Linked DNA regions of Homo sapiens: region 2 is linked to region 1. The links are contacts of gene promoters, found by promoter capture Hi-C in human tissues and cell types (Jung and others, 2019). All regions are on one chromosome and are shown on one strand. Each heading gives the region's core, a stretch centred on a gene start or on the middle of the fragment in contact. The rest is flanking DNA. Distances are from core to core; before and after follow the strand shown. Region 1 holds the start of R3HDML (R3H domain containing like). Region 2 overlaps OSER1 (oxidative stress responsive serine rich 1).

Region 1 (7,056 bases), core at 2,697-5,196:
AATAAAATAAAAATAAATAAATAAAAATAATTTGGGTCACCCCTGATTATTTCCTGACCCCACCCCTAATATTTTACCCATTGAAAACCTGCCAAAATGCAACTGGGACCAGCTTTCTTCAATGGGGGCAGCAGAGAGGGTCTGACTGGGATGTGGCTGTGTGTTTGCTACGAGAGTGAATTTCTGTGTTTCTGTGGATGCATGAGTGTGTGGAGTAGGCGATGGTGGTCTTGTCTGTGTGGCTGGACTGTGGGGTCTTCCTCGTTGTCTGTCTCTCAACACTGTGGAGAGGCAGTATGGGGGTGCCTGTCCCACCTCTCCCACCCACAGGATGTGTGACCCGGGGCAAATGACTCACCTCTTTGTGCCTTAGTTTCTTCATGTATATAAAAATGTGGATGATGATAATAATAGGGTTATTCTGAAGATTAAATGAGATTGCCCATGTAATGTGCTTAAAACAGTGCTGGCCACTTATGAGAAAGTAGCTAATACCATCAGCTTATATGTAGTAGACATGCTTAAGTGTGTAACCTGTGGGTTTCTGTATATTTATACAGGACACCTGTGGTGTACAATGGAGAGGATATGAGGGCCTGGCGGGGACGAGCTCTCTGTGATTTGTGGGAGGGGATGTGCTTATATGAGTGTGTGCACAAACGTGTGTGTGTGTGTGCACATACATGTGTTGTGTGTACAGCAGATGCCTGCGCCTTCTGCACATGTGCAAGGACGTTCACTGCCAGGACCCAGGTTACCACACAAACAGTCTCCATCCCTAGGACAAGTCACTGAGGCTCACGTGTGCCTCGGTTCCTTCATCTATACAATGGGTGGAGTCACTACCCCAAAGGGAGCTGTGAGGCCCAAGTGAATTGAGGATGTGAAGTTCTGAGCCAGTGCAAAGTGCCAGTTACATAGGAGTGGCTTGTGCTATGCGTTCTGAGAGAGCCGGGCTTACTTGTTGACACTCCTGGGTTCCTAAGTGCCATGGCTGTTTGTGTCTGCCTTCCCTGGGCTGCAGAATTTGCCCTGGTGTATCGAAGATCCCACCTGTTGTTGTCCGAAGAGCCAGAATTGGGAACCTATCAAAGAGAAACTGGGAACAGCCTTCTTCAGTGGGGGCAGCAATTTCAGTTCAGTTTCTTCAGTGGGGCATCCAAGGCCCAAAGAAGGATAAGAACTTGCCTTAAGACACCCAGCACACTGGAGGCAGAGACGGGGCTAGATCGAACGAGTCTCTCTTGTCCTTCTGGCATAGTGGGAGAGCCCCCATAGGGGTCAGGGGTCGCAGCCCTCACCCCTCACTGCTCTGCCCTCCCCACCTTCCCCAGCATCCAGCAGGAAGGTCACTGCTCCAGCAGGAAGGTGTGTGCTTTGGCAGCCGCACTGTCTGGGCTGCCTGTGGTGGGAATTCCACATGTCTGGAGAGGACCCGTCTGGAGTAGCCCAGTCCCAGCCCCCAGCCCTGCTTCGCCAGCTGGCCCAGGGTTTGGCCTGCTGCCCCGAGACTAGGTTCAGCCTGGGAATCCTCAGAGCTTGCTAGAAGAGTAGTCTGAGGATTGCAAATTCTTCACCTGTGTTTTTTATATAACACCTTTCTGTTGTAAGTCTATCCCCTTCTATTACAAAAGTAATGCATTTTATTTTTGGGGAATACAAGTAATGAAAGAGGAGAAAATTGAACTCTTTCTTAACCTAGGACTTCAGCAACTCAGAGACTGAGACTTTAAACACACACACACACACACACACACACGCACACACGTCCATTATCTACATACTCATACATTCACCTGGGGACACATTTGACTCAAGAACACTCAAACACACACACATGTAAGTATACTTGCACACACATACACAAGTGCATACATACTCTCACAAGTACACACGTACACACAAACACATTCACACACACATTCCTAGAGTGCACACAGTGTGCCAGCCACTGTACTAAGGCTCCACAAATGTTCACTCATTTCATCTTCGCAGTAATGCTACAAGGTAGGCACCGCTATTTCTCCCATTTTACAGATGAGGCACACAATGGTTGAGTAACGTGCCCAACACCTAGTTAGTGAGGGGGTGGGATAAGGGAAATTTGAACCCAGATTTGTGGGCTTAATTCATTTGCTAATGAATAGGCTGTGTTTGAGTGGCATCATAACGAACATCACCCTAGGCTTTTTTCCTTATGCATCTATATTTGGTTTGGTTAGAAAATGGCATCTTTGGCTGATACAAAAAAATTAGCCAAGTATGGTGGTGCGTGCCCGTGGCCCCAGCTATTCAGGAGGCTGAGATGGGAGGATCACCTGAGCCTGGGAGGTGGAGGTTGCAGTGAGCCGAGATTGTGCCACTGCACTCCAGCCTGGACGACAGAGCGAGACTCTGTCTCAAAAGAAAAAAAAAGAAAGACAGCCTGTCCAATATGGTGAAACCCCATCCCTACTAAAAAATACAAAAATTAGCCAGGTGTGGTGGTGTGCACCTGTAGCCCCAGCTACTTAGGAGGCTGAGGCAGGAGAATCGAGGTTGCAGTGAGCCGAGATTGCGCCACTGCACTCCAGCCTGGGCGACAAAGTGAGACAAAAAACAGAAAGAAAAAAAAAAGGAAAGGAAAAGGAAAAGGCATCCTTTTAGATACTAACCAGGCCTGGGGTCAGATCTGGACTTAAATCCTGGCGTGATTGCAGACTGGCTGGCTTGACTTTGGGCTTGTTCTTTCTCCTCTCTGGGGCTCAGTTTCCTCATCTATGAAATGGGGAGCTATAGTACCTGCTTCTGAAGGTTGGCTGGGCTTTTGTGTAAAGCACTCAGCCCTGGGCCTGGCACATAGCAGGGGCTCACTAGATGGGCCATATTAACTGTCTGCTCCAAGGCTGGAGGGTGTTATAGGGAAAACAGTCAGAAAATACTCTCCAGATGCAAGGTGGCCTTAATATGTCAGGATGTGGAAGGCAGAGAGAAGCCTCGGGGTCTGGGATCTCCCATAGGGGATGAGTATTTTTTCCTGGAATCCCTGCCCTGTTGCCACATCACTACCCTGACCATTTGCCCAGCCCAGCCCTACATGCTTCAGGTGAAAGCAGAGAGAGAGGGGCGGGAGAGAAAAGCCCATCAAGCAGCAGGCGGAGCCTCCCTGCAGGAGTCTGGCCTGGCTGGAAGGGGAGGGGGCTGTGGGGCCAGGGACGTCAGATGCCAACAGCACCAGGGGACCGTTAAAGTTGCTGCGCCGCCAGGTGGGCCAGGGTGTCTGCAGAGGTCCCCGGCCTCCTGGGCTGCCGCCTGCCACCGCTTGGGCTGCCCGTCCTGGGTACGCACCGTTGGAGCCTCCTGCCTGGTCTCTCGTGCTTCTCTGTCTCTTCTCTAAGTCGATTTTTCGCTCTTTCTTCTGTTTGTGCCCCTCTCTCTGTCTATTTCTGTCCTCCCCCAGCCACATTGTTGCCTCTCTCTCATTCTCTCTTATCTCTTTACCTTTCTATTTCTCATTCTTTTTTCTCTGTAACTCTTTTTTTCTGTCCCCTTTTTGGTCTCTCTTTTTTCTCTGCCTCTTTCATTCTCTGCCATTGGGTTTTCTCTGTGTCTCATTCTCAATTCCTAAATTGCAGCAAAGCAGGGACAAAAGGACCTTGCAATATGACTTGGGGTAAGGTGGGCCCTGCCCTCCGAGGGCATTGACTGAGCCCGCTCCAGCAGGATTGGTGAAGAGGATGTCTAGACTGGAGAGGGCTGCTGTCTGTCTCCTGGGCTGGAGGGACAGAGCACTGGCTTTGAAGTGGTGGCACCATCTCACCCCAGGGCCATGTCTGGATTAGCCACTGTCTGGGCATTTCTTCCCCTTGCCCAACCCACTCAGTCCCCTGGGGTGGAAAGGAAGGGGTGCTGGGCATCTGGACCAGAGCTGCATCTGGAGGTCTTTGCCAAGTTCCCAGGAGGCAGCATCCTCTGGGTCGGCACTGTTGGAGAACGCTCAGGGTCTGGTGCTCTCGTGCCTGCCCCTTCCAGGCAGCCGGCTCTGATTGCACAAGGCAGACCTGTGACTCCTCCATCCAGCTATGCCCCTGCTGCCCAGCACCGTGGGCCTGGCAGGCCTGCTCTTCTGGGCTGGCCAGGCAGTGAACGCCTTGATAATGCCTAATGCTACCCCAGCCCCGGCCCAGCCCGAGAGCACGGCTATGCGGCTCCTGAGTGGCCTGGAGGTGCCCAGGTACCGCCGGAAGCGCCACATCTCTGTGAGAGACATGAATGCCTTACTGGATTATCACAACCACATCCGGGCCAGTGTGTACCCACCTGCCGCCAACATGGAATACATGGTGAGTCCCCGTACCTGCCCCCCACCCCCCGCAGTGTCCCTTCCGGCAAACGCAGCCGGACTCATCTTGGCCTAGAATGACTGGCTTTGAAGAGCTGGACCACTTGCCTGCCTGGCCCCACTAGCCAGTATCTGGGTGTCGACCTGTGGAAAGGGCAGGAGTTAATCTGCCCATTTTACAGATGAGGAAACCAAGAAGGTTGCACAGCTGTTCCAGTGAGTCAGGCATGTGACTACTATGTAAGGAGCACCACTGTGCGCCAGGCACTGCACGTGAGTATCATCTCCATTTTCCAGAGGAAGAAACTGAGACTCAGAGAATTAATTTGCCCAGCCAGGATTTCAATCCAGGTCTGCCTGCTGCCACCTGGCACCATCACAACTGTAACCATCACAATCCCCTACCCAAGAATTTTGGCTCCCCACACTGGGGACCTGCATGGGGTGCGTGGCTGGTGCTTTCTATGCTATTGTCTCTTTACCCTAAGGTCTTGACTGACACACCCACAGCATCCTCCACAAGCCCCTGGAGGCAGGCTTGGAGCAGTGGGGACAGGTACTGGGGAATCTCAGGCTGAGGAAAACCAACAGCTGACCAGCAGAGGAAGCTGGGATGTCTCCCCTCAAAGAGGCAGGGCTGGTGGCTCTCACTCCAGCCCCCAAGAAGTCAAAGGAGGGCACCAACCTTTTGCTTACAGCTCCTCCCCCAGGGCCACTGTCCAAAACCAGCCTAGAGGGATGGGTTTCCAGCCCACCCAGAGATGTCTTTAGGGAAAGAGTTTGCCAGTCTGCCCCCTGAAAGACCAACACATGCCACTCGATAGCCTGAAAACTTAACTTTTTCATCGTATCCATTGACTTATACTTGGAGTACACTTGCAGCCAGGCACCGTGCTAAGCCTTGTGGATACTGCTGGTAACAGAATAGACAAGGCCCCTTCCTTCACGAAGGTGACATTTTAGTGGGAATAAGAGAAAACAAGCATGAACAACAAGATATTAATGTACATAAGATAACGTGAGGAGGCAATACAGTGTTGGGAGGGGCGGGAATAAGAGCCGGGATGGCAGGCAGCTAGAGTGCAGGGGAGTCATTGACTTGTTCATTCATTCGTTAGCACCTAGAATGCCCTCCATTTTTCAAACAAATGGCACATTTATTGAGCACCCGTTGTGCGTGTGTGGCACCTGCCCCAACAGGTGTTTAATGATTGCAGGCGGCATGGAGCAGAGAGGGTTCAATATCTCACCAGGGACTCCAGGGAGGGCCTGAACATGTAGGTTTGATGTTTAGCCTGCTCCTTCCCTCACTTTACCCCTTTGTAGCATGAGGGAAGCACTCCTCTGCTCTCCCTAAAAGACTGAGCCAGAGAGCCGGGCGCAGTGGCTCACGCCAGTAATCCCAGCACTTTGGGAGGCCGAGGTGGGTGAATCACCTGAGGTCAGGAGTTCCAGACCAGCCTGGCCAACATGGTGAAACCCAGTCTGTACTAAAAATACAAAAATTAGCTGGGTGTGGTGATGAGCGCCTGTAATCCCAAGCTACTTGAGAGGTGGAGGCAGGAGAATCGCTTGAACCTGGGAGGCCGAGGTTGCAGTGAGCCGAGATCCAGCCAGCCTGGATGACAAGAGTGAAACTCTATCTAAAAAAAAAAAAAAAAAAAAAATATTGGGCCAGACAACCCTGGTAGATACCTGGACCCCTCTTTGGATGCCCCATTTCTCCCTCCCTAGCTGACTTCTACTCACAGAACAGGCTGTCCAACTCGACAGCCTTTGCCCTAGCAGCCCTTCTCTCACTGCCGCAAGAAAGTTTGGCTCCCATTTCTCACTCTCACACCGACCAGGACTGTAATAATCAATGACTTGTTGAAGGCCTTGTTGCCTTGCTACCCTGAGTCCTCAGTGCCTAGAGATGTTGTTTGATATTTGATGAATGAACAAATCCTATTTCAGAGAATCCCAGGAAGTCAGAGATGGAAGGGAACTAGTATTTTAATGACATATTTTCTGGTTATAAAACTTGGAGAATTCATACATTGGAAAATTACAAAACTGTTAAGGAGGATGAGGAGGGCATTCACCATGTAGTGATGGGGAATAATCACTAAGACAAAAGAGCAAGGTGCAGAATAGAATATGCTGCCATTTGCCTATATATATGTGTGTGTGTGTGTGTGTGTGTGTGTCTGTGTGTGTGTGTATATATAGAGAGCTGCTTGTACAGGTATAGAATATATACCTGTATACAGAGGACACAAGAAGCAGTGGTGACTGCCTCTTGGGACGGTGTGCAGGGTGGTGGGGTTGGGGGAGAAGTATAGGAGAGAGATGAGACTTTCTACTGTTCCTCCTTGGTTATCTATTTTTGTTGTTGTTGACACGGAATCTCCCTCTGTTGCCCAAGCTGGAGTGCAGTGGCACGATCTCGGCTCACTACAACCTCTGCCTCCTGAGTTCAAGCAATTCTCGTGCCTCAGCCTCCCAAGTAGCTGGGACCACAGGTACACACCACCATGCCTGACTAATTTTTGTATTATCATTATTATTTTTGAAGACAGAGTTTCACTGTTGTTGCCCAGGATGGAGTACAATGATATGGACTCAGCTCACTGCAACCTCGGTCTCCCAGGTTCAAGCGATTCTCCTGCCTCAGCCTCCCGAATAGCTGGGATTATAGGTGCCCGCCACCACACCCGGCTAATTTTTATATTTTTAGTAGAGACAGGGTTTCA
Region 2 (6,770 bases), core at 115-2,614, 140 kb before region 1:
GTTGCATTGACATCCCTGTGGTTCCTTCTGCCAAGAATGCCCCTCCCTCAGATGCCCCCATGGCTCACTCTCTTACTTCCTTCAGGTCTCTGCTCAAATGTCACCTTATCACAGCATCTTCTCTGCCCACCCCAAATAGCAACCCTATCCCTGGCCCACCCCTTCCTATCTCCTAATTCTTTTTCTCTCCATACAACTTACATGTTCATCACCTCTCTCTACTGAGGACAAGGATATTGTTCTGCTTACTGTTCCATTCCCAGAATCTAGTACAGTGTCCCTGGTGTGTTGTAAGCACTTGATATTTATTGAATGAATGAATGAATGAATGAATGAATGAACGTTCAATGAAAACTTGTTAAATAAAGGCATGTGGAAATCAGGATGTTACTTTTTTGGAACATCAGAGTGAGACTTAATCCCTCAATCCACAAACCAAATCCATTTTCCTAGATGTATCAGAGAAAGGAGATTAGTTTGGTACATCACATTCACAAAAGAACGTCAAATATCCCAATGAGGGACCCTAATGTTAAAGTTGGGCCAATTAGGTCTGAGCAGAGTAATTTTTAACTTCAAGATTCATGTTTTGAGGAAGATTTTGCTGAGATGTAGATAACTTACAACTTATTCCCACAAATCTGGAATGCCTAAACTTTCATGCAAGTTGGATTTTGAGTTACTAGGTCATTGGAACTTTGTGCTTTTCAATACTTACACCCTCCTAACACCTTCATATGAAAAGAATACGTATCATCATTCTCTGGTGACTGCTGCACTAATATACAGCACTAAGTAAATAACCAGAGCGCTGGCTTGAAAAACAAACTAAAAGGGATTTAAAGGCTTAAGAACTCGCCTTAATTCAAAGAACATGTTAAGCCCATGTTAAGCCCACTTAACATGAACTTGAATAGCTCACTACTTAATTACAATAGCTCCACTCCTCTACAGCTTTTATTTTATTTTTGAGACGGAGTCTCGCTCTGTTGCCCAGGCTGGAGTGCAGTGGCGCAATCTTGGCTCACTGCAAGCTCCGCCTCCTGGGTTCACACCATTCTCCTGCCTCAGCCTCTGAGCAGCTGGGACTACAGGCGCCAGCCACCACGCCCGGCTAATTTTTTGTATTTTTAGTAGAGACGGGGTTTCACCGCGTTAGCCAGGATGGTCTCGATCTCCTGACCTTGTGTTCCGCCCGCCTCGGCCTCCCAAAGTGCTGGGATTAAAGGCGTGAGCCACCGTGCCCGGCCCAGTTTTAATTTTTTTAAAGGTGAGCCAAAACATTAGTTGTGGAGGTGAAAGCGGGGTGGTACCTTTACAACCAGAAGCTTAAATTTTGGTCCTGGAATCCCTGAGGCCCTTTTAGGAAATCTGAGGTCAAAATTATTTACATGGTACTAAAACATTACAGGTTGAGGGTCCCTAATCTGAAATGCTTCAAAATCCAGAACTTTTTGAGCACTGACATGAGGAGCAAAGGACATGCTCATTGGAGCAGTTTGGCTTTTAGGATTATGGAAGCTGAACTGATAAGCATGTAATGCAAATCTTTCAAAATCTAAAAAAAATCTGAGATCCGAAACACTTCTGGTCCCAAGCATTTCATATAAGGAATATTCAACCTGTAGTTGCCTTTTTCACATTCATTCTCCCAAGTGTACAAAAGTTTGCCAGAGACCACACAATATGCGATATCCCAGAGACTGAATGCAGAAACATATGAGAATCTGTCTTCTAATTAAGCCAAACATTAAAAAAGATTTGCAAAAAGGTAGAACAATGCCACTCTTCTATTTTTTGTTTTGGAAAAGCTATTTTTCATTCAAAAATTTTGTTAGCTTGTAATGAGTTTTTAAATATTTAAAAAAATCTTAGTTTTAATTTCTAACATGGTAAATATTTATATCCTTTTGGAGATTATAACAAAACCTTTTGGGTCCTGAATTTGTCAGTGTAAAGGAAGTGCTTACAAAAAGTTTGAGAATTTCTGCCTTAGATATACTAAATAGTGTACCTTCTGTCACCATTATCAGGAAATATCTGTCACAGCTTCTAGAACTGTGATAAGGTATTTTGCTCCCTTGCTTTAACCACAGCCTTCAGATGTCACTAAATCCACACCAAACCAATGACCAGCAGAGGACTCCCACTACTACTTAAGCTTAGGGTTTTTCTAGTAAACACCCTTCCCCTCTCCCCCAAGTACAAATCACCTATTTGTTGAAGCCCACATCCCATTATCATGAATCAACCACAGCCAGCGCAGTTTTAGTAAATAGTATAAATGTATTTTGTAATTTAAACAAAAGCTTCTGTTAACATTATTGCTAACATGGCTAGACACTGTCACTAAATTTGGTGGCTCTGCTCAGGATGGTCTGAACACATGCAACATTCTTTTTGGAGCCACCTGAAAAACAAGGATTCATCATCCAGCTGAAACCGAAGACAGATTTTTTTTTTACCAAACTGGAGGGAATTTTGAAATGGCTGACCAAATCTGTGGGATACAGAATGTACAAAATTCTCTTTTAGGGTTGCTGGGGTGACAGGGCAGCTCAAAGAGGTAACCATCTATAACATCTGAAACTGAGGTATGAGACCTGTATTACAACTGATAACAAAAAAAAAAAAAAAAAACCGCCATATATTTAAAATGCTGGAGATGGTGAAGACACACACTCGTTTCAAATATTACACCCCCTCCCTCCAACTGAAGCAGCCCATTCCAAGCTGCTTACTTGAAACTGCATGTAACATGTCTTAGGATGAATAGCACCAGCAGGGGCTTATTTAGTGATGGTTAATAACTCTCTCAAACAATAGAGGGCAGGCCAGCTAGTTTATTCAAATTGAATCTAAACCTTAGATCTCTGGCTTAACAATAACAAGAGAAACCTTTATAGACACAATATATCTTGCATTAAATCAGAGACGGTTTAAATCAGTCTTGTAACTTCTAATATTCTGGGCTGGCAACTACAGCATGACAAATGTTTAGTGCAGTTACAAAATCACATTTTACTTTCCTTGGCTAGCAAACCTTAAACAAATCTGAAAAATGCACTGTTTTACAAAGGCTTTTACCATATACCCACTGCTGCCAGTCTCAAGTAATTATGGTTTCTTCATCCCCCAGGAACATTTCTAAATAAGGGGGATTTTTCTTTGATCTGCTCGCCTTGAAGTGTATGTAAGAACTCAAGAGAGTAAGTTGAAAGAATGAAGATTAACTGAGATGCCAAGAAAAGTTTTTATTGCAAGCACAGTGAGCAGAAAGAGATGTCTTCTCACACAAAGTGGCCACAAGGTCTGCCATTAACTAAATCTCTTTGACAAGCCTTCATTGGTTTAAAGCATATGAATTAGCTTCTTGCTATCAGGTGTACATCATTTCTGCCATGTGGGACATTTTCTTGGGAATATACAAGTAATACTCCATGTAGCCTGACAGGTCCTCAATGGTCACATCATCCACGAAGACTCGAGCTTGCTCAGAACAGGATCGGGGAGAGCCAGACAGAGTTCTGGCGTGCAGCGACTGAGAGTAGTCCTCAAGTGTGGATCTTCGTTCTGGAGCCAAGGGAGGGACACTCTGCAGGCCTGAAAAGGAATACACTTCCATATCATGCCATCTCTTACACTGGCATTCCTTGCCTATGCATGTGCATGGCTTGCCCTGGTTTAGCTTGGAAACTGATTGAAAGTCAGAGAGATCACTGGCTTTGAGACTTGCTTGGGGGACTTGGGTAGCGTCAGAGGAGTCTTCCTTCTTACTCTCTGATGGGAGCCTTGGAACAGAAGTTCTCAAAGGCTCAACGACTGCCCCTGTGTGATTAGCATCGAGAGAAGTAGAGCTTTCTCCTGCACTGAACTCTTTAGGGGATGAAATTCCCAGCCCACTGCTGCCATCAGGTGAGTCAGTCTGGCTTTTGTGCTTGAGTTGACTGCTGGAAGAAGACGCTATTGTACTGCAATGTATAAACTTTGGAGGATGAAGGACAGGAGACTTAGAACGTCGACGACGCTGAGTTCTCACTGCTCCTCGTGAAGACTTCCTTGTAGACCTAAAGAGGAAAAAAAATATACAAGAAGATGTTGGGATATGGAGCTGTCCTAAACAGATTCTTTATGACAGTAGGAAATTTACCTTCCCTCAGCTTTATGAGTCTAAGCTCATAAATTTCCTGCAAGAGATGCACCTTCCTCCATTTTCATGCTGCCTAAGTCTTTGTGTCTCAACAACTTCAACATCATCTTATTAGCAAGCTATAGAACGAGGTGAGATAATGGTATTTTTTAACTGAATCACCTGGGCCAAACATTTGGGACAGAACACCTGCCCTGTTCCAACTCTAAGCTTGGGAGCCTTTGACCAGTGGGTCTGAGGGAAGCACCTCAAACATACAACTGAAACCGATCCTGTGAAGCCTAAATATTGTGCCCTAAACCTGAATATAGCAGCTTCAGAACCACTGTGAGGCTAACGTTACAAATGACCATTATGCCATTACTATTAAATAGATTTCTGATTCATTTCTATCATTGGTAACAGCCAATCAATCAAAACCAAAAAACTAACAATATTTACAACCCCTGAGGTTTTCAGATACTGGGAATTACTGGACACACTATGTAAGATAACTATTTATAAAATATTTAAATAGCCAGGCGCGGTGGCTCACGCCTGTAATCCCAGCACTTTGGGAGGCCGAGGCAGGTGGATCACGAGGTCAGGAGATTGAGACCATCCTGGCTAAAGCGGTGAAACCCCGTCTCTACTAAAAATACAAAAAATTAGCCGGGCGTGGTGGTGGGCGCCTGTAGTCCCAGATACTTGGGAGGCTGAGGCAGGAGAATGGCGTGAATCTGGGAGGCAGAGCTTGCAGTGAGCTGAGATCACGCCACTGTACTCCAGCCTGGGCAACAGAGCGAGACTCCGTCTCAAAAATAAATAAATAAATAAATAAAATAAAATAAAATTAAATAAAGAACTGAATGAAAAGAAAAGATACTCAAAACTGCTAAGTGAATTAGAGACAAGAACCAAACAAGACACTAAAAAGCTAAACAGAACACAGTAATCCCATCTTATCCATGGTTTCGCTTTCTACAGTTTCAGTTACCTGCAGTCAACCATGGTCTGAAAATATTAAATAAAAAATTCCAGAAATAAACAATTCATAAGTTTTACATTGCGCCCCACTGTGAGTGGCATGACAAAATCTTGCACCATCCTGCTCCGTCCCACCTGGGATGTGAATCATCCCTTCGTCCAGGGTATCCACACTGTATATGCTACCTACCCATTAGTCATTTAGTAGCCATCTTGGTTATTAGATCAACTACCATGGTACTGCAGTGCTTGTGTTCAAGTAACTCTTATTTTACTTAACAATGGCCCCACAGTATAACAGTAGTGATGCTAGCAGTTTGGGTATACCAAGAAAAGCCACGAAGTGCTTCTGCTGTGGTTAGAATGTGTCACCCAAAAGTTCATGTGTTGTCAACTTGGTCCCGAATGCATCAGTGCTGAGACCTTTGGGGGTGATTGGGTCACAAAAGGACTCTGCCTTCAAGAATGGATTAATCCATCCACAGATTAATGAATTAAAGGGTTATTGAGGGACAGGGATAGTTATCACAAGAACGGCTCTGTTATAAAAGCCGGTTTGGCTACTTCTCACGAGCCCCCTTGCCACGTGATATCCTTCCCCATGTTATGATGCAGCAATGATACACTCACTAGATGCTGGTGCCATGCTCTTACACTTCCCAGCCTCCCGAAATGTAAGAAATAAGTCTCTTTAAAAATTACCCAGTCTCAGGTATTCAGTTACAGCAACAGAAAATGAACTAAGACAGCTTTCTTTAAGTAAAAAGGTGAAAGTTCTTGACTTAATAAGGAAAGGAAAAAAATAAATCGTATACTGAGGTTGCTAAGATCTACGGTAAGAACGAATCTCCTATGTGAAAAATTGTGAAGAAGGAAAAACAAATTTGTGATAGACTTGCTGTTGCACTTCAAATGTGAAAGTTACAGCCACAGTGCATGTAAGTCCTTAGTTAAGATGGAAAAGGCATTAAATGTGTGGGTGGAAGACATGAACAAAAACGTGCTCTGACTGATGGCAAATGGGTTTGATATTGTCTGCAGTTTCAGGCGTCCACTGGGGTTCTTGGAACATATCCCCTATGGATAAGAGGGGACTTGTACACACAGCTAAAGAAAGAATGACTGACGGGAAAATAAATCTGAATTATTTGTAACAGGGGCCAGCAAATTACAGCCTGTGGGTCAGATCTGGCTCCCTGCCTGTTTTTGTACAGCTTGTGGACACTGCTCCAGTGGGCTAGCACTGTGAGCCACAGACCAGGCTAGGGGATCCTCCCCTGTCCCTATTCTCCCTGCCCGCCTTCCTGGCCAGTAGACAAGCTGCACCACTGTCCAGCGCCCGCACTAGCTAACATCTACATGTTGGGTCTCTACTGTTGGCAACTGCTGATCATTGAGAGGCAGAATCTCAGTTCAAGACTCCAACCAATGCTGGGATCTCTGGAGGAGAAAAGAGCATGCTGAGATCTGAGCCTCACTGGGACAGAAAGTAGAACTGACCCTGGCACTACCTGCTACCCACCCATTCCACAAGGTTCTCCTTTCAGGCTAGTCACTCTATCCTGCGACTGTCTCAGCAACTGAAGACAGAATGTGTCCACCAGCCAGGACGGCCAACCCCAGGCAAACAGGGTAGAGTAGGAGTTTTCTCTCT

The links. The method cuts DNA at HindIII sites, captures the fragments that hold promoters and counts their contacts. A contact is called where the count stands out against the background at its distance.
Region 2: a contact is called between a fragment that was not itself captured here and the fragment with the promoter of R3HDML in region 1, in 1 of the 25 tissues and cell types used here (dorsolateral prefrontal cortex).

The regions. Positions count from the first base shown.
Region 1 is chr20:44,333,097-44,340,152 of GRCh38, forward strand. R3HDML (R3H domain containing like) reads left to right here and starts at 3,947. Exons shown (of 5, transcript NM_178491.4): 1 at 3,947-4,322. The coding sequence starts at 4,062. RefSeq lists enhancers at 863-1,374, 2,629-3,618. The HindIII fragment of the contact is 19,264 bases long and covers 1-7,056 here.
Region 2 is chr20:44,193,673-44,200,442 of GRCh38, forward strand. It overlaps OSER1 (oxidative stress responsive serine rich 1), which reads right to left. Exons shown (of 4, transcript NM_016470.8): 4 at 2,267-4,067. The coding sequence ends at 3,380. Among named protein-coding and RNA genes, the nearest start is that of JPH2, 9.9 kb to the left of the region's middle. The HindIII fragment of the contact is 3,940 bases long and covers 1-3,334 here.